6 separate regions of the Homo sapiens genome follow, and all the other regions are linked to region 2. The links are contacts of gene promoters, found by promoter capture Hi-C in blood cells and fetal thymus (Javierre and others, 2016). All regions are on one chromosome and are shown on one strand. The core of a region is centred on a gene start or on the middle of the fragment in contact, and the rest is flanking DNA. Distances in the headings are between cores, read along the strand shown.

Region 1 (2,700 bases), core at 181-2,680, 160 kb after region 2:
GGGAAGCAGGCTGGGCTGGGCTGAGATGACTCACTCTCTGAGATTAAGGGAAGACACCCTTTCCTGCGCAGGCCTTGGCTGGGTTCCTGGAACCTCAAAGGGCTGCAGACCCAGGTCCTGTCGGAGAACTCTCTCCCAGCCCTTGCCCCTATCCTATAGTGGCCAAACTGCTAAAAAGCTTGTTGTGCCTCTTGGCCTCCCACTTACCACCATCCTTTGAGGTTCCTTGCTAAGGTCACCAACATGTTCATTACATCTGGTGAACACTTGTCTTGTCTTTTGCCTTCTTGGTCTACTCTGTTGGTGTCAGCTCTTCCTCATTTTATCCCAGGTGTTCATGTCTCTCCCTTCAACCTCCCATTATCACGCATATGCAACCATTCCGAAAGGTGGTGCCGACAGAGACTGCTCTTCCAAGCTGCAGACCTGTGTAGACACCCTTGCATCCCCTGGGATATCTTGCAGACATCTCATACCTCAAGACCCGAAATGATTACCAAACACTTAGTCGTTCAACCTAGAAAGCAGAGTATTGGCCTTGACTCCTCTCTCCCTTTCACCTCGAGGTTCAATCACCTAGACCTCTCCATTCCACTTCCTAAAGCTGTCTCAAATCTGTCGACCCCTCCCACAGGGTGGCTCCCACAGCTGCCACTCCCATCCTATTTCAGGCCACCATCATTGCTCAACTTCTGCAAAGACCTCCTAAAGCTGGTCTTCCTGCTTCCACTCTCGCCCCCTACAGCCCATTCTTCACATGGCAGCCAAAATTATCTCAGAAATAAATCTGATTATTTCTGTACTGAAAATTTACCATGTCTTACCATGGCCCTACAAGGCTTGGCCCCCGCATTCCTTCTCTTATCTTCTCTCACCCTGCTCTTCCTAACCACTTACAACGATCCAACCAAGTGATCTCTTCTGTTCCTCAAACATGCCTACCTGCGGGGTCTTGGCACCTGTTCTCTCTGCCTAGAATGGCTATTCCTCCAACTCTACACATACCTGATTTTTTTTTTTCATTCTTTAAGCCTCAACTCACATGTCCTCTCACAGAGAAGCCTTTCCCAACCACCTGCTCTAGAGAGGCCTCCTCCATCTTCTTGTTTATGTATTTGTTTATTATCTATCTCCCCAAGTAGAAGACACCTTATCTGCTTGTTCATTACAGTAATCTCAGCACCTGAAACTGCCTGATATACATTTGACAATCAAGAAAGATTTGCTGAGTGGGTGAATAGGTCTGGCCCACAAGGCCCTTGGGGATCTGCTGCCCCCGTTAGCCCTCCCCCGACTCTAGCCACACTGACCATTCATGTCTCGAACATAACATGCTCTCTCCTAGGGCCTATACACATGGTGTTCTCTCTGCCTAGTTAATTCTGGTCTCCACTTAAAAGACCACTTCCTTCCCTGAACTCCTGAGAAAAAAGGTCTCCACACTATACGTTTCTTCAGCAGCCTGAATGCCTTCACACTCAGGCCTTATTTCCTTCACATCAGGCCTTGCTAGGCTGTAAGCTGCGCTAGGACAAGGTTTGTGTGTCTCTCTTGCTTGTTGCTGTAACCCCAGGGCCTCACCCAGAGTCAGGACCAGCTCAGGCCTTAGTGTTTATGAACTGGTGCTAACTGTGGAGACTGGGCACGTGCCCAAAGAGGTCACCACCACAGAGCAGCCCAGGCCAAGCACAGAATGAATAGTACAGTCTAGTTGTAAAGAAGTTTGGTATGAGGATGGCCATGGGTGGGGATATGAGGAAGGATTTAGGTAAACAGGGAGAAGCCAGGAGGATTTTCTGGCCATGGCGCAAATTCCTTAGGGCAGAATGTACTGGGCATATTTAGGTAAGAAACAGATCAGCATCACTGGAGTGAAGAATTCCTGAAAAGGAGGCGGGAGATAAGAGAAAACAAAGGTTGAGGCGATGTTGTTGAAGTTCCTGAAGACCTAGCTTACTTCTCTGTGCCAGACCTGAGTTCAACCACCTTTTGGGTCTCCATCAGCTGATCCCACAGTAACCTCAATATATCCCAGACTGAAGTCATCCTGTGTCCTCCCATGTCCTCCCCTGAGTTCCCCATCCTAGTAAAGGTGTTTTCAAGACCTCCCTCTCCTTTCCTCCACACACCTCAATCAGTAACAAAAACCTACTGCTTTTGCCAGGCCCAGTGGTTTATGCCTGTAATCCCAGCATTTGGGAGGCTGAGGCAGGCGGATCTCCTGAGGTCAGAAGTTCGAGACCAGCCTGGCCAACATGGTGCAACCCTGTCTGTACTAAAAATACAAAACTAAAATTAGCCGAGCGTGGTGGCGTGCGCCAGTAATCCCAGCTATTCAGGAGGCTGAGGCATGAGAATCACTTGAACCCGGGACGCAGAAGTTGCCGTGAGCTGAGATTGCACCTGAGTGACAGAGCAAAATGCTGTCTAAAAAAACAAAACAAAACAAAACAAAAAACCTACTGCTTCTAAATTATTCTCCAGACCATACTCCAGCATGATCCACTAAAAATATAAGTCTGGTGAATGATTCCCCTTGAGGACTCCTCACAGCTTACAGGCTAAAGCCCACAAACTTTTCAACACCTACTTTGCTTTGTCCTGTATTATCCAGCCTGCTCACCTCCTGCTGCTCTGCCACCCACTCCTCTGTTCCAGCTTGATCCATGCTTCTGAAGCTTCCAGTTGGGGATGTCCAAT
Region 2 (2,700 bases), core at 164-2,663:
ACCATTCCTCTGACAGACAACACAGTGATTGAGAAGCACCTGGGGAAGTTTGGTGTCGTTTGCTTGGAAGACCTCAGTCATGAAATTGCCGTCCCAGGGAAGCATTTCCAGGAGGTCTCATGGTTGTTACGCCCTTTCTACCTCTCAGTGGCCCGTCATGCTACCAAAAATACAGTGGGCTTCCTCAAGGAGATGGGCACACCTGGCTATCAGGGTGAACGCATCAGTCAGCTCATCCGCCAGCTGAACTAGACCCAGGTGCCAAACTGCAGTAAATTTTTATTAATGAAGTGGAAGCATGGGTAGTAGAAGCATGTGTTTTTGTTTTTTTGGGAATTTTTATCAAGTATCTTCAGAGAAGATTATTTCCAGCTTTATCTTCAAAAACTGGAAAGGAAGGGTCAAAGAAAAGACAGAAGCTCACGCCTGTAATCCCAGCACTTTGGGAGGCCGAGGCGGGTAGATCACTTGAGATCAGGAGTTCGAGACCAGCCTGGCCAACATAGTGAAACGCTGTCTCTACTAAAAATACAAAAATTAGCCGGGCATGGTGGCGTGCACCTGTAGTCCCAGCTACTTGGGAGGCTGAGGCAGGAGAATCACTTGAACCCGGGAGGCAGAGGTTGCAGTGAGCCAAGATCACGCCACTGCACTCCAGCCTGGGCAACAGAGCAAGACTCTCTCTCAAAAAAAAAAAAAAAAAAAAAAAGAAGGAGAAGAAACAGTAGCTTATGTTCATGGCAAGCACCTCTAATCACAGTCCAGTTTCCAAGGAAAAATTCCAGCGTTTTAGTTTAATGTCGGTAAGTGAGTAACTCTAGCATTTGTACAAGGCTCCCTAAGACTCCTGCACCAGTCGGCCAAGCCCAGGGACATAATTGAATTTGGAGATTCTTGGGGCCTTGTTTTGAAAAAGACTTGAAATAGGAAGAAAGGCCCAAAAATAAATGTTCACTTGTCTCTGAAAAAAAAAAATCTGTCTCAAAAAAAAAAAAAAGAGAGACTTAGGGGGGTCTAGGGGGCCTTCCCTGCTATCACCCCAGCACTGCCTAGGTGTTCTACCGGGAGAAGGGGGCCATCGAGCAGGGAGTTCTTACAGTTTTCTGAGACTTTCATGACCGTACCCCTTGAGAGTGTTGTAGGCAATATCCACTCCCCACCTACACACACACAAATTTTGCACCAAATTTTGGGGACTCTCGAAACCCAAGAACCCGGGTGATGGGACCCTAATCCCGACACTCCTTTGCAGCGCAGAGTCTGGGAGCGCAGAGCGCGGGGGCTGCGGGGTGGGCTGAAGGTGGGCAGTACCGGGGGGCGGCGGGCGGAGCGGGGCCGGGAGGGGGCGGTGCCGGAGGGCCAGCGGTGTGGCGCGCCGCCTGCAGGGGGCGCTTGCGGCGGCTCCGGTCGGAGACAATCGCGCTGAGCGGGCGCCGCAGCGGGAGCGGGAGCCGGAGCTGCGAGGCGCGGCGCAGAGCTGGGGCTGCGCGGGGCCGGGCGAGCGGGACCAGGCGGGAGCCATGGACCGCTAGGGCCCGGCCTAGCCCCGCGATGCCGCCGGCGAGTGGCCCCAGCGTCCTCGCGCGGCTGTTGCCGCTGCTGGGGCTGCTGCTCGGCAGCGCCTCCCGGGCTCCCGGCAAGTCGCCGCCGGAGCCCCCCAGCCCGCAGGGTGAGTCTCAGCCGGGAGGGGCCGCGATCGCGGGCCTGCGCCCCCTGATCAGGCTCCCGCCCGTCAGCCCCCTCTTCGCGGCGTTCGTGAATTGAGTGGTATTCTGTTCCCTGGATTCGGGTGGGGGGAGCTAAGCGATCTGGGGTTGGCGCTTCTGGGGGAAAGTGGAGGCGGGGAGAGGGAGGCCGTCCGGGGCGGGGGTCTTGGGGAGACACAATGGGTAGTGCGAGGGTCCCCAGGATCTGCGCCGCCGCCCTCTCCCTATTTGTTTTTCTCCCTCCTGGTCCGCGAGGCGCTGCTGCCTGAGCCATTGTCTACCGAAGACACCCGCCCAGGGGCGGGCTGGGGCGGGCGCCTGCTCCGCAGCCCCCTGCGGGTTGCTCGCTCCCGACCCTGGCGGGGTGGGGGCGCCGGCATCCGCTGCCACCCTAGGCCGGGACCGGAGGCTGGGAGCCTGGAGCTGGGTTTGAAGGGGGGAGGGGAGAAGGGGGAGTGGGTGAGGCTGTGGGCGGGATTGACTGCTCTAATGGGGTTCTTTGCCCTGGAGCCTGACAGCTCCCAGCCAGCCCCCCTGGTTTAGAGTTTGGGGTGCACCAAATAAATGCTTGTGAGCCTATGATGGAGGACGAGCCGCAGTTGTGGGCCTCTAAGAAAAGGGGGTACATTGTGATTCCCAGCTGAGGGAGCATGGCAGGCTTGTGGTCGTGGAGCCATGCTGAGCTAGCTGGCTGTGGGCAGTGCCGGCTGGGAGGGCAGGTGCCTGGGTCCCCCCCCATTCAGCAGGCCTCCTGGCATTCCTGTCCCCTGCCCGCCCCCATATCACCCCCTCCTCATCTCACATCTTCGCAGTGGAGGAGACCCTTCCCAGCGACTCACCGGGCGCAGGTGGGTGTGTGAGGTGGGGGTGGGGCCGGCTCCTGCAGCAGGAAAGGGTGGGGGAGCAAGACCCTGACAACACATCCCACAGGCAGGCCTGGACGCTTGGGGGCCTCCGCCCACTCCAGTCCTGAGTCCACCTCCCGGGTCCTGCT
Region 3 (2,700 bases), core at 97-2,596, 250 kb after region 2:
AAAAGACATTTGTCCCCATCCCAGATCTCCTCTCTTATTGCCTTGGAGGGTTCTGGGAATTGCACTGAGGATTTTCTGACTGTGTCTGATACTTTGCTTCCTACTTGTTGGAGGCTGTAATGGTGCTGGGAGCTGGCTCCCCAGCTCCCGGCTCCAGCCACCTCTGGGTGTCCCTGTCCTGGGTGCTACTATCTTCCCTAAGCAGGAAGTCCTGTTTCCTTCAATGTCTGGGTGCTCCAGGTTCTGGGGGCCCTGCTTTTGAGTCCTGGTAACTGACGCCTTCCTCTTCTTTAGAATAAGGCTCTCCTGCCACACTCTCCTATGCCTGGGGCAGGCAGAGAGAGCTGGGACAGGGCTAGCCAGCCCTTCTGGTTACTCCTAGCGTGGGTGGGAGGAGTCCTGGGCTGGGAGGGGTTGCTGCTCTTGGCTTTCTGGGCTCCCTTGAATCTGCTGCCCATCACCCCACTGATGGAGACCTTCCCTTCCCTTCCTCTTGAGAGGGCCTGGTTGGCCAGGATGAGGTTGGGGCAAGGGGTGGTGAACAAGATCCCCAGCCATACCCTGAATGTCCACCAGCACTAGGCCTCTGAGGGAGTACTGTTCCACTGCCCTTTTTCTAGAATCTGCCCTGGTTTAGAAGCTGCAGCTCCAGACCCCTGTTTCTTTGCTGGTCCACCACTGGGTACCCCCTGGCAACATATACATCTTGCTAGTCAAGGGCCTGGGAAAGCCTGCCTCTGCCTATAGGTGTGGTCCCCCTAATCCTCCCACTCCCAGCCTGAGGGCAGGAGACCCCTTTGCCATCCCTGACTGGCAGAAGCTGGCTGGGAAATTGGGCTCCAGGAGCCACAGCCACTGTGTCCTTGGTTGGCCAGCTTCTCCTGGGCTCCCAACAAGAGGGTGAGGTCATCCAGTCCAGAGAGAGGACAGGTGTCCCTGGCTCCATGCCTGGAGTGGGGGTCAAGGAGGGGGCTCCAAAATAGCAACTGTGACATCAGGAAGGGGGAGGGGGATATAGACACAGGAATAACCAGGCTATTAAAAGGCTCTAGTGAGGTCAGGGGGCCAAGTGGGATCTTTGTACCAGTGGGAGGCACAACCTGAGGAGCAGGGGCAGGCCAGCGGTGGGGAGGGCGGGGGAGTGCCACTGGTCCTCATGGTGCACCAGCCCCAGGACCCAGGGAGCAGGGGCTGTGCTGCCAGGCCTGAGGCTGGCTGGTGGGTAATGGCTGGATGCTGAAAAACTCTTGACTCTCCTTAGCGAGGTTCCAACCTCAAGTCTCTTCCTACTTGAGCACAGGGGTCATTGTACCTGTTAATAGAAACCCTGGGAAATGGGAGGCAGTGGAGTGTGGTGGTTAGAGCTCAGACTTGAGCCTCAGACATCCCAGCCCTGCCATGTAAGCAGCTTTATGACCTAGGGTGAGTGACTTCATCTCCCTGTGCCTCAGTTTTCCCATCTGTGCCTCTCCCAAGGTCACCACGCAGAATTAATGAGATGATGTATATGATGTTCGTAGCACTGCACCTGGCACATTGCCATGGAGGAGCTACCTGTGCTCTGAGAATTAGCAGATGTTCCCTGGTCCCTTTTCCTGGATTGGGGTGAGGAAAGGGGACCAGGGGACACCTGTCTGCCCAGGAGGAGTATCCCTACACCCTAGAAAGAAGCTGAGGCTGAGCAGCCTCTGGAGGCGACACTCCAGAATGAGCGGGAGGGAGCTGCCATTTAGCAGGTGTTTAGGGGTCTCTCTGCTGGTTGAAGGGGTGGGGAGGCACCTCTCAACTCTGTGGGAGGGCAGAAGTTAAGCAAACCTCCATGGGGCTATTAGAACTCCAGGGAAGGTGCCTGTGTGCCAGCCTCTCCTAGACCCTTCCAATTCCTTTACCTGTTCTGGAAGGCAAGAAGAAAGACGGAGGCTTGAGTCTGGCTTCTTGGTCTCCATCCCCTGGCTTGCTTGCCAAGAGTAGCAGCCAGAGCCGCTCCCAGATGCATGGGTACCCTGGCCGGCGCCCTTCCCCAGCCCAGCCTCTGGCCACCCAGCGCTGTGGCCTTGGCCCTGAGTGCAGGCCCTCCCCTGTTCCCATCCCCCTCGCCTGGCGCTTCCTCCTGGGGTAGAACCGCCTCCCCCCCCATGGGGCCTCCTGGCAGCCCGCCCGCAGCTCCCTGAGCATGCTCCACCTATTTATAGACAGGGCCCTCCCCCAACTGCTATTTCAGTCTCCTGCCAGCTGCCGGCGGCGGCTCATTCGGGAAGGAGGAGCAGGGAGCCGGGCCCAGAGCTGTCACCCAGGGTTGGGAGGGAACACAGAGCCCGCCTGCCCGCTGAGCTCCCCTTCCTGTCCCAAGTGCTCAGCCATACCCCAGCTCCCAGGAACCAGGGAGAGGCTGGTGGTCGGATGCCCCTCTAGAGCAGAGCTGGGCCTGCAGCTCTAGGGCCTCCCTGCCCCTCCTGCCGCCAGGAGTGCCCAGGCCGGATGAGGCACTTCCCTACAGTGTGGGTCCCGTCGGCAGTGGCCTGAGGGAACCTGTGCTGTGCGGGCTGCCCGACCACCTTCCCTTCGGTCTGCTCCCCGCCTCTGGCGGCCCCCTCCCTGGCATGCTGCTGGTGCCCAAGGCTCAGGGGCTCGTGGAGATGCTGCAGACCATCTATGAGACAGAATCCTGTTTCTCAGCAGATGGGATGTCAGGTCGGGAAC
Region 4 (2,700 bases), core at 201-2,700, 180 kb after region 2:
AAAGGCAGGAAGGGTCCCTGCTTGCTCCTTGGAGTACCTACTATTTCCCTTGGAGAATCTGCTGCTTTCACAGCTGTCCCTGGGCAAATCCAGTCTGGTGATTACCATTATCAGACTATTCTCACAGCACCTATAAAACTTCATTATACTTATGTACCTGTCCATCTTTCTATTAGACTCCTGGTAGACAAGGATCGTATGTATTTCTCTTGGTACTGAAGTGTCCAATATAATGCCCCAGTAGTTGCTCAAAGAATTATCTGTGGAACACATCAACATCCTTATTTAATATACCGGCCCTGGAGTTAGAAAAACAACTAATTATAACCCCAGTCTTGCGTCTTACTAGCTATAACACCTCAGACAACTTTCTCAGAGCCTCAGCTTTCTCATCAGTAAAATGGGGTTAAAAACAGTACCTACCTCATGAGGTTGTTTTGAAGATGACGTGAAATCATCGAAGCAAAATACTTGGCACAGTGCCTGGCACACTGCAAATTGCAATTGCTTAATAACGGTAGTAATTATTTATCACAACCACAACTAACCCCTGATGGTAAGAAGGTTAATGTTATTAACCATGATTTACAGGAAAAGAAACTGCGGCAAAGAAAGACGAAAACGATTGGCACAGACACAGGGAACTCTCGTGGGGAGGGGCCCGGCAGGACCCCAGGTGTCCGGCCTCAGGGGTCTTTGCTCTGTCCCTCAGCCTGTGATCTACCCTGTCCGTACCGTGACCGCACGGTGAGGAGGGGTCCCGCACCCTTTTTCTGAGGCGAAGGTTCCGCTTTTGGATGGTCCTATTCCCTCGGCGTTGGACTGGGGTCCATGGGCCCACCCGAACCGAAGGGCTGCCTGGCCCCAGCCTCCGTGATAAGACCAGTTGTCCCGGCCAGTGAGGAGTAGGGTCGGCTAAGGGGGTCACAAACCGTCCACACCCCTCAAACTTCGGGGCGGGGCTGGGGAACTGGGGGCGGGGCTTCAGGACGCGAGGAGTCATGGGAAATTAAAGGGGGATTGGACCGGCACTGTGCCTGGATGGGGAAGTCCTCACCTGAAAAGACCAGACTAAATGTTTTGACCTCGCCAGGACGGCCCCTGGACTCGTCTTTCCGTAGGGGTCGGGAAAAGGGCTGGCAATCTGCGATTCTGTTCAGGGTCCGGTCTCTTCCGGCTTCTCCCGGAAGCTGTTATACCAGGGACAGGAAGTCCCGCCTCCGCGCCTTGCACTGATGACGCGAAGCTGCGTAAGACGGGCTGACGTAAAAGGTATTCTTTAAATAAAAGGGACAGGTTTCTCAGCGGAAGGAGGGGTGGAGTCATTGTTGGCGGGATTGCGGCCCTCCCAGAGCGGGGCCACGCCTGGTGGGCGGGGCCTTAGGCAATCCAGGGTGAGAGGCGGGGCCAGGGGGGAGGAGTTAGCGCGGAGGTACTTGGGAAAGGGGCGTGGCTTCGCGACTGCGGAAGGTTGCCCGGGCTGGCGCCGCTGGGCAGAGCCGGTGCGACGTTTCCCTTTCCAGCTTTGTTCTTCCGGCCCTGCTGTCTGCCTCCCCGGCTGATTGGATTCGTTACTGCTTTGCAACGCGCACCTAACTCCAGGTTAGCGGGGATTAGTAAGAACTCAGCTCTGGGCCAGTCGGGAAGACAGATAAGGAGACCAGTTAGTCAGCATCCAGTGCTTGAAGAGTGCGGCCCCAGGTAGTGTGGGACCCGGAGAAAGAAGGCGGGAAAGCATTTCAAAGAAGGCACAGATTCGGCGCAGGCTTAGGACACAAAAAGGGGGAAAAGTCCAGCTTTCAAGAACTTATCCAGATTTTTGCAGTTAAAATTTTTTCTTTTTTGAGACGGGAGTTCCGCTCTTGTTGCCCAGGCTGGAGTGCAATGGCGCGATCTCGGCTCACTGCAACCTCCGCCCCCCCGGGTTCAAGCGATTCTTTTGCCTCAGCCTGCCGAGTAGCTGGGATTACAGGCATGCGCCACCACGCCCCGCTAATTTTGTATTTTAGTAGAGACAGGGTTTCTCCATGTTGGTCAGGCTGGTCTCGAACTCCCGACCTCAGGTGATCCGCCCCCGTCTCGGCCTCCCAAAGTGCTGGCATTACAGGCGTGAGCTACCGCGCTCGGCCGCAATTAAAATTTTTTCTAAAAACTTACTGTGGCCGGGGGGAGTGGCTTACTCTTGTAATCCCACCGCTTTGGGAGGCAGAGGTGGGAGGATCGCTTGAGCTCAGGAGTTCGAGGCTGCAGTGAGCTATGATCTGAGCCACTGCATTGCACCCGACAGGGAGGCCTTGTCTCCAAAAAAAAAAAAAAAAGCGCTGGAGTTTGGGGTTTTGGAGAACTACTGATTAAAGGATAAATAATCCAGACAGGGGCAAACATAAGCAAAAAGCTCGGTGGCTTCTACCAACTGAACACTGGCAGAAGTAGCACTTAGATCAAGAAATAGATAATTAGGACTGGCGCGGTGGCTCACGCCTGTAATCCCAACACGTTAGGAGGCTAAGGCAGGCGGATCACAAGGTCAGGAGTTCAAGACCAGCCTGGGTAACATGGTGAAATCCCGTCTCTACTAAAAATACAAAAATTAGCCGGGCGTGGTGGCGCACGCCTGTAATCCTGGCTACTCAGAAGGCTGAGGCAGGAGAATGGCTTGAACCTGGGAGGCGGAGGTTGCAGTGAGCTGAGATGGAGCCA
Region 5 (2,700 bases), core at 151-2,650, 210 kb after region 2:
AGATCCTAGGAAGGTGGTGGGGGCAGGGCAAGTCAAGCCCAGGCTCTACACTCTCAACCTGGAGTGGATCTGCCTGGAAGCCCATGCTTACCTCCCATAAATGCCAAATGCTCGTCTCGGTTCCTAAAGAGGATGTCCCCACCAGTGCTCTGTGCAGCTTCCCCCTAATTTAGCAGAGGCAGATGCCAAGAGGGAAGACACAGAGCAGGTGCTGGCTCACCTGACAGGCCATTTGTAGCTCACTGTTCTCCACACTGCCACCTGTAGCAGATCTGACCCTCGGTCATTTACTGCCACCACCCCCTGGTGGGCCCTCCACTTGGTTAGTTCTCAAGTGACTCCTATCCTCTCAGATGTTCAAGCCTGCCATCAGATGCTCAGGGATCACCAAGAAGCCAGCTGCTCCTCTAGGTACTGTTACTGAGCCATCTGCCAGGCGGCTGGATGAGGGATAGGAGATGGTCCTGTCCCCAAAGATACCTTTTCACCTCAGAGCACCTGCCCCCTTCAGACCTCTGCTCCCCAGGGTGGAAGAGAGGAAGAAATCAGAAGATCCAGGCAGAAGGAGGGCCTTACCAGTCTCCCGTTTCTTCCTGCTCCTCTTACCTTGGGGAAGGGCTGAGATGGCTTGAGGAAGCTCCCATCCCCAGAATCCGGGCTGTAAATATGGACCAGGTTGTTGGGTGTCACGTTGAGGTAGTGATTTCGAAGTGAAGGAGAAAACACTCCAATCTGGAGTCAAGGAAAGGGAAGGTCAGTGTCCTGATGGAGCACTGGGAGCTGCCAGATGGACACCTGGCTCCCACCTGCCTTTCACTTGGTGTCCTCTGCCTAGCCTTGGTGCCAGAAGAGAACCATTTGCCACAATCTCCCCTTAACACAACCCTCCATCCCTATCCACCCTGAAGAATGGGGGCCAGCTCAAGGGCCACAGGCCTTCCCTGAGCTCAAGCCAGGGCCTAGCAATGGTTCAGCCACTCCGTGCCTGGTGTTGTAGAGGAAGGCAGCCAAACAGGTAAGGAGACAGACACTGAGGGCTCTATCCGGGGGGCAGTGGTGTGGAGAGCTGCTCCCCATACCTGCTTCAGCAGCAGCACTGAGCCAGGCTTCAGCTCATTCTGGCACGTCTCCAGCAGCAACCTGTGCACCGTCCCCTGCATCTCTCCTGCAAATACCACATGGCCCATCAGTCTCGGGGTCAAGGGCAGCACAGCGACTGGTATGGGCCCTGGCTGGGAAGTGGGCTGCTCACTGCCTCAGTTTTCCTGTCTGCAAAGGGAGAGGGTGATTCCACCTCATTTCCTGGCCTCAATGGAGCCCACTCACCAGACAACCTAGGACCTAATTCCTTACCCGTGGGGTCCTTGAAAACCACACTGGCGTCCATTGTGCTCCGAGTCAGGGACTTGATCATCACCGCCATGTTGGGGACCTTGTTCCTAGGAAGCTGCTTCAGGGCTGCCTGCTTACAAGGAGAGGCATATGCTGAGCCTTCCACGGCCCACTTGTGACTTCCCAGGTCTCCAAGTGTGCCAGGGCAACCGGGGTTAGGAGGGGTCAGAGTATAGTTATAGTGATGATCTTCTTTGTGGAGGACAAGGAGGTACCCCATCTCTCTCTGACAGACCTAGAGCTGGGAGGTCCTTCATTTCTCTCCCCTGCCTCCGTTCTTTTTTATTTTTTGAGAGGGAGTTTCGCTCCCAGGCTGGGTGCAATGGCACAATCTTGGCTCACTGCAACCTCCACCTTCTGGTTTCAAGCGATTCTCCTGCCTCAGGCTCCCAAGTAGCTGGGATTACAGGCGCCCACCACCACGCCCGGCTAATTTTTGTATTTTTAGTAGAGACAGGGTTTCACCATGTTGGCCAGGCTTGTCTTGAACTCCTGACCTCGTGATCCACCCACCTCGGCCTCCCAAAGTGCTGGGATTACAGGCATGAGCCACCGCACCCGGCCTATTTTTTTATTTTTGAGATGGAGTCTCGCTCTGTCGCCCAGGCTGGAGTACCATGGCACGACCTTGGCTCATTGCAACCTCCGCCTCTGGGTTCAAGCGATGCTCCAGCCTCAGCTTCCTGAGTAGCTGGACTTACAGGCGTGTGCCACCAAGCCTGGCTAATTTTTGTATTTTCAATAGAGGGGGTTTCACCATGTTGGCCAGGCTGGTCTCGAACTCCTGACCTCAAGTGATCTGCCCGCCTCAGCCTCCCAAAGTGCTGGGATTACAGGCGTGACCCACCCCGCCTGACCTGTTTGGTTTTTGTTTTTTTCTTGAGTCGGAGTTTCACTCTTATTGCCCAGGCTAGAGTGCAATGGCACATCTTGGCTCACCGCAACTTCTGCCTTCCAGGTTCAAGCAATTCTCCTGCCTCAGCCTCCTGAGTAGCTAGAATTACAGGCATGTGCCAACACGTCCGGCTAATTTTGTATTTTTAGTAGAGACAGGGTTTCTCCAGGTTGGTCAGGCTGGTCTTGAACTCGCGACCTCAGGTGATCCGCCCGCCTTGACCTCTCAAGATTATAGGTGTGAGCCACCACGCCCGGCCTTGGGTTTTTTTTAAAGGAGACAAGCTCTCGCTCTATTGCCCCGGCTGGAGGGCAGTGGCACGATCATAGTTCACTGTAGCCTCAACCTCCTAAGATCAAGTGATCCTCTGGCCTCAGCCTCCCTAGTAGCTGGGACTATAAGACATGTGCCAC
Region 6 (2,700 bases), core at 188-2,687, 190 kb after region 2:
CCGGATCAGGTGTCGAGCACAGTCTGTGTAGCCTCGGGCTGTAGCGATGGCGAGGGGTGCCGTCTGCTTGGTCTTGGGGGTCAGCACCCAGAACCCTAGGGAGAGCAAATAGTTTTGGGAGGTGGTGTATAAGACAGGGCAGGGCAGGGAGTGGGGATGCTGGTTCCAGCTGACAGCTGACACTGGCCTTCCCTCTGCATGGTTTGCTGAGCACAAACACTGCCAGGCTGTACCTGTGGAAGGGGGCTTATTCAAGTCCTGAAGTGGAAGAATAAATTGGAACAGCCTTTTAATACAGCTTATCAATCTGTAACAAAACATAGTATGTGTCATAAAAAAATTAATTGCTGTATAAAACCACAGGGGCCAACTAAGTAGAGTGACTCCCATTAAGGAAATCTCAGCGTCTTTGAATGGCTAATAGTGTCAAAGGCTTGTTCACCTTGGGGCCTGGGGTGGTGGCTCACACCTGTAATCCTAGCACTTTGGGAGGCCAAGGCGGGATGATCACTTGACCTCAGGAGTTCGAGATGAGCCTGGGCAACATAGTGAGACCTTGTCTCTTTTTTTTTTTTTTTTAGGCAGGGTCTCGCTCTGTCCCCCAGGCTGGAATGCAGTGGCGCTATCTTGGCTCACTGCAAGCTCCGCCTCCCGGGTTTAAGTGATTCTTCTGCCTCAGCTGCTGAGTAGCTGGGATTACAGGTGCGCACCACCATGCCCGGCTAATTTTTCTATTTTTAGTAGAGATGGGGTTTTACCATGTTGGTCAGGCTGGTCTCAAACTTCTGACTTCGTGATCCGCCTGCCTTGGCCTCCCAAAGTGCTGGGATTACAGGCGTGAGCCACTGTGCCCGGTCAACTTTTAATTCTTAAAAGACATACAGACTGCTAACCCTGCCTCATCTCTGTTTAGGAGGGAGCTAGGATAGGTGGTGGAAAGGGCTGCTATAGTCTGTGGTCTGCAGGGAAGGAGGGGCCTAGACTCTCCCCCTTCCCCACCCACTCCCCTTCTTTCTCCCTCCTCTTCTGCCCTCTTCTGGTGCCCCCTACCCTGTTCAGCCGACCAGGCCAGCTGGTTGCTCACAGTCTCCACAATCATGTTGGCGGCCTCTTCATCTTGGAACAGGGCTTGGACCTGCTGCAGGTTGCCGGAGAAGAGGGCTTGGTGGACAGCTGGGTCTCGGCAGGAACGGTGAGGCCTAGTGAGTCGGGCCCGGGGACTTGACGGGCACCTGCGGCTCCGGCACTGCTGGGCAGCCGCCCGCCGCCGGTCCTCCCATTCCAGCCACTCCTGCTGCAGGCGGAGAGAGCGCAGCATGGAGGAGGTGAAGGGGAAGGTCTCTCTTGCCATGGATGGGGCCCAGGGGTTTGGGCAGTGGCACCTGGGCAGAGCCAGGTTCCCTCGACCCGACTACCTCCCTTGCTCTGAGGAGCCACCCTGCCCCCGCCACCGTGAGCCAGAGAAAGCAGCAGCTGAGGCTATAAATAGGTCCTTTGCTGCTCTGGTAAACATGGTTTGCTCAGAGTCATGATCCTGGTGCTGAGAAGCTGCTGGCCCAACCCCCAGCCCAGGGTGAGGGCCAGCCCCTGCCCCTGCCGATACCCTTTGGTTGGTCAGCAGGCCCTCAGCTGAGGCCACCCCCGAACCCCAGCATCTGCATCCACCTTCATCTCTAGAGCGAGCATCTTGGGTTGGCAAGGTCCAGGGTGCGCAAAAAGGTCAGTCATGGAGATGGGCAGGGCTGGGAGGAAGACAAGGTGCCTCCAGCCTCTCTGATGTTGGCTGGAGGGCAGGAGCCACCATTGGCCCACGTGGAGGAGAGAGGGCTGACCTCAGCACAGGAGGTAAGGGGAGGTCAAGGCAGAGTTACTGAGAAGGTGAGCAGCTCTTCCCAGCATCTGCAGTAACAGCAATAACTCTGTACATATGCACAGAGTTTCACGGTGTTTAAATCACATTCATATCCACCTTCACCCAGGGGATCATACTTCCCAGCCCACCCAATAATTAGTAAACTTGGTTTGGACAATAAATGAAATTATCACAGTTGAATGCCCCTGAGATGGGTGGTCTTATCTCTGTTTTACAGATGAGGAATTTAAGGCTTAACAAAGTAATCTACTGGCTCAAGGTCACAGTTTGTGAGAGGCAGAGCCAGGACCCCACATAGATGGTGTGCTTTGGGCCAAGAATGGTGGCTCATGCCTGTAATCCTAGCACTTTGGGAGGCCAAGACAGGAGGATTGCTTGAGCCTAGGAGTTTGAGACAATCCTGGGCAACACAGTGAGACCTATATCTTTTTTTTTTTTTTTTTTTTTTTTGAGACAGAGTCTCACCCTGTCTCCCATGCTGGAGTGCAATGGCACGATCTTGGCTCACTGCAACCTCCGCCTCCCGGGCTCAAACGATTCTCTTGCCTCAGCCTCCTGAGTAGCTGGGATTATAGGCACCCGCCACCATGCCCAGCTAAATTTTGTATTTTTAGTAGAGATTTAATTTAGGGTTTCACCATGTTGGCCAGGCTGGTCTCGAACTCCTGACCTCGTGGTCTGCCCGCCTCGGCCTCCCAAAGTGCTAGGATTATAGGCGTGAGCCACCACCCCCTGCCTCTCCATCTCTTAAAAAAAGAAGAAAAAAAAAAAAAGATGGTACACTTTTTGCCTTCAGCTGCTGCAGCCACCTGGCAGCCTCCCCCATT

The links. The method cuts DNA at HindIII sites, captures the fragments that hold promoters and counts their contacts. A CHiCAGO score of 5 or more calls a contact.
Region 1: a contact is called between a fragment that was not itself captured here and the fragment with the promoter of FAM171A2 in region 2, in 12 of 17 cell types (erythroblasts, megakaryocytes, monocytes and 9 more). The highest score is 12.0, in erythroblasts.
Region 3: a fragment that was not itself captured here is called in contact with the fragment with the promoter of FAM171A2 in region 2 in 1 of 17 cell types (neutrophils); the score reaches 5.8 in neutrophils.
Region 4: the fragment with the promoter of ASB16-AS1 here is called in contact with the fragment with the promoter of FAM171A2 in region 2 in 1 of 17 cell types (neutrophils); the score reaches 5.9 in neutrophils.
Region 5: a contact is called between a fragment that was not itself captured here and the fragment with the promoter of FAM171A2 in region 2, in 2 of 17 cell types (neutrophils and erythroblasts). The highest score is 7.7, in neutrophils.
Region 6: a contact is called between the fragment with the promoter of ASB16 here and the fragment with the promoter of FAM171A2 in region 2, in 1 of 17 cell types (neutrophils). The highest score is 5.5, in neutrophils.

Annotation. Positions count from the first base shown.
Region 1 is chr17:44,201,883-44,204,582 of GRCh38, reverse strand. The region is part of intron 1 of ATXN7L3-AS1 (ATXN7L3 antisense RNA 1); the gene reads right to left. Among named protein-coding and RNA genes, the nearest start is that of ATXN7L3, 3.3 kb to the right of the region's middle. The HindIII fragment of the contact is 2,500 bases long and covers 181-2,680 here.
Region 2 is chr17:44,362,566-44,365,265 of GRCh38, reverse strand. FAM171A2 (family with sequence similarity 171 member A2) reads left to right here and starts at 1,413. Exons shown (of 8, transcript NM_198475.3): 1 at 1,413-1,669. The coding sequence starts at 1,552. It also overlaps the pseudogene RPL7L1P5. RefSeq lists a silencer at 1,322-1,701. The HindIII fragment of the contact is 8,364 bases long and covers 1-2,700 here.
Region 3 is chr17:44,110,780-44,113,479 of GRCh38, reverse strand. HDAC5 (histone deacetylase 5) reads left to right here. Exons shown (of 27, transcript NM_005474.5): 3 at 2,680-2,700. Among named protein-coding and RNA genes, the nearest start is that of HDAC5, 12 kb to the left of the region's middle. RefSeq lists an enhancer at 966-1,466. The HindIII fragment of the contact is 4,795 bases long and covers 1-2,700 here.
Region 4 is chr17:44,185,467-44,188,166 of GRCh38, reverse strand. It overlaps ASB16-AS1 (ASB16 antisense RNA 1), which reads left to right and starts at 1,450. Exons shown (of 3, transcript NR_049730.1): 1 at 1,450-1,602. TMUB2 (transmembrane and ubiquitin like domain containing 2) reads right to left here and starts at 1,195. Exons shown (of 4, transcript NM_001076674.3): 1 at 1,058-1,195; 2 at 424-491. The coding sequence starts at 458. RefSeq lists an enhancer at 1,337-1,871. The HindIII fragment of the contact is 11,845 bases long and covers 1-2,700 here.
Region 5 is chr17:44,153,318-44,156,017 of GRCh38, reverse strand. It overlaps HROB (homologous recombination factor with OB-fold), which reads right to left. Exons shown (of 10, transcript NM_001171251.3): 6 at 1,354-1,462; 7 at 1,080-1,165; 8 at 607-732. Among named protein-coding and RNA genes, the nearest start is that of HROB, 13 kb to the right of the region's middle. The HindIII fragment of the contact is 7,387 bases long and covers 1-2,700 here.
Region 6 is chr17:44,169,441-44,172,140 of GRCh38, reverse strand. It overlaps ASB16 (ankyrin repeat and SOCS box containing 16), which reads right to left and starts at 1,437. Exons shown (of 5, transcript NM_080863.5): 1 at 1,051-1,437; 2 at 1-95. The coding sequence starts at 1,351. The HindIII fragment of the contact is 23,995 bases long and covers 1-2,700 here.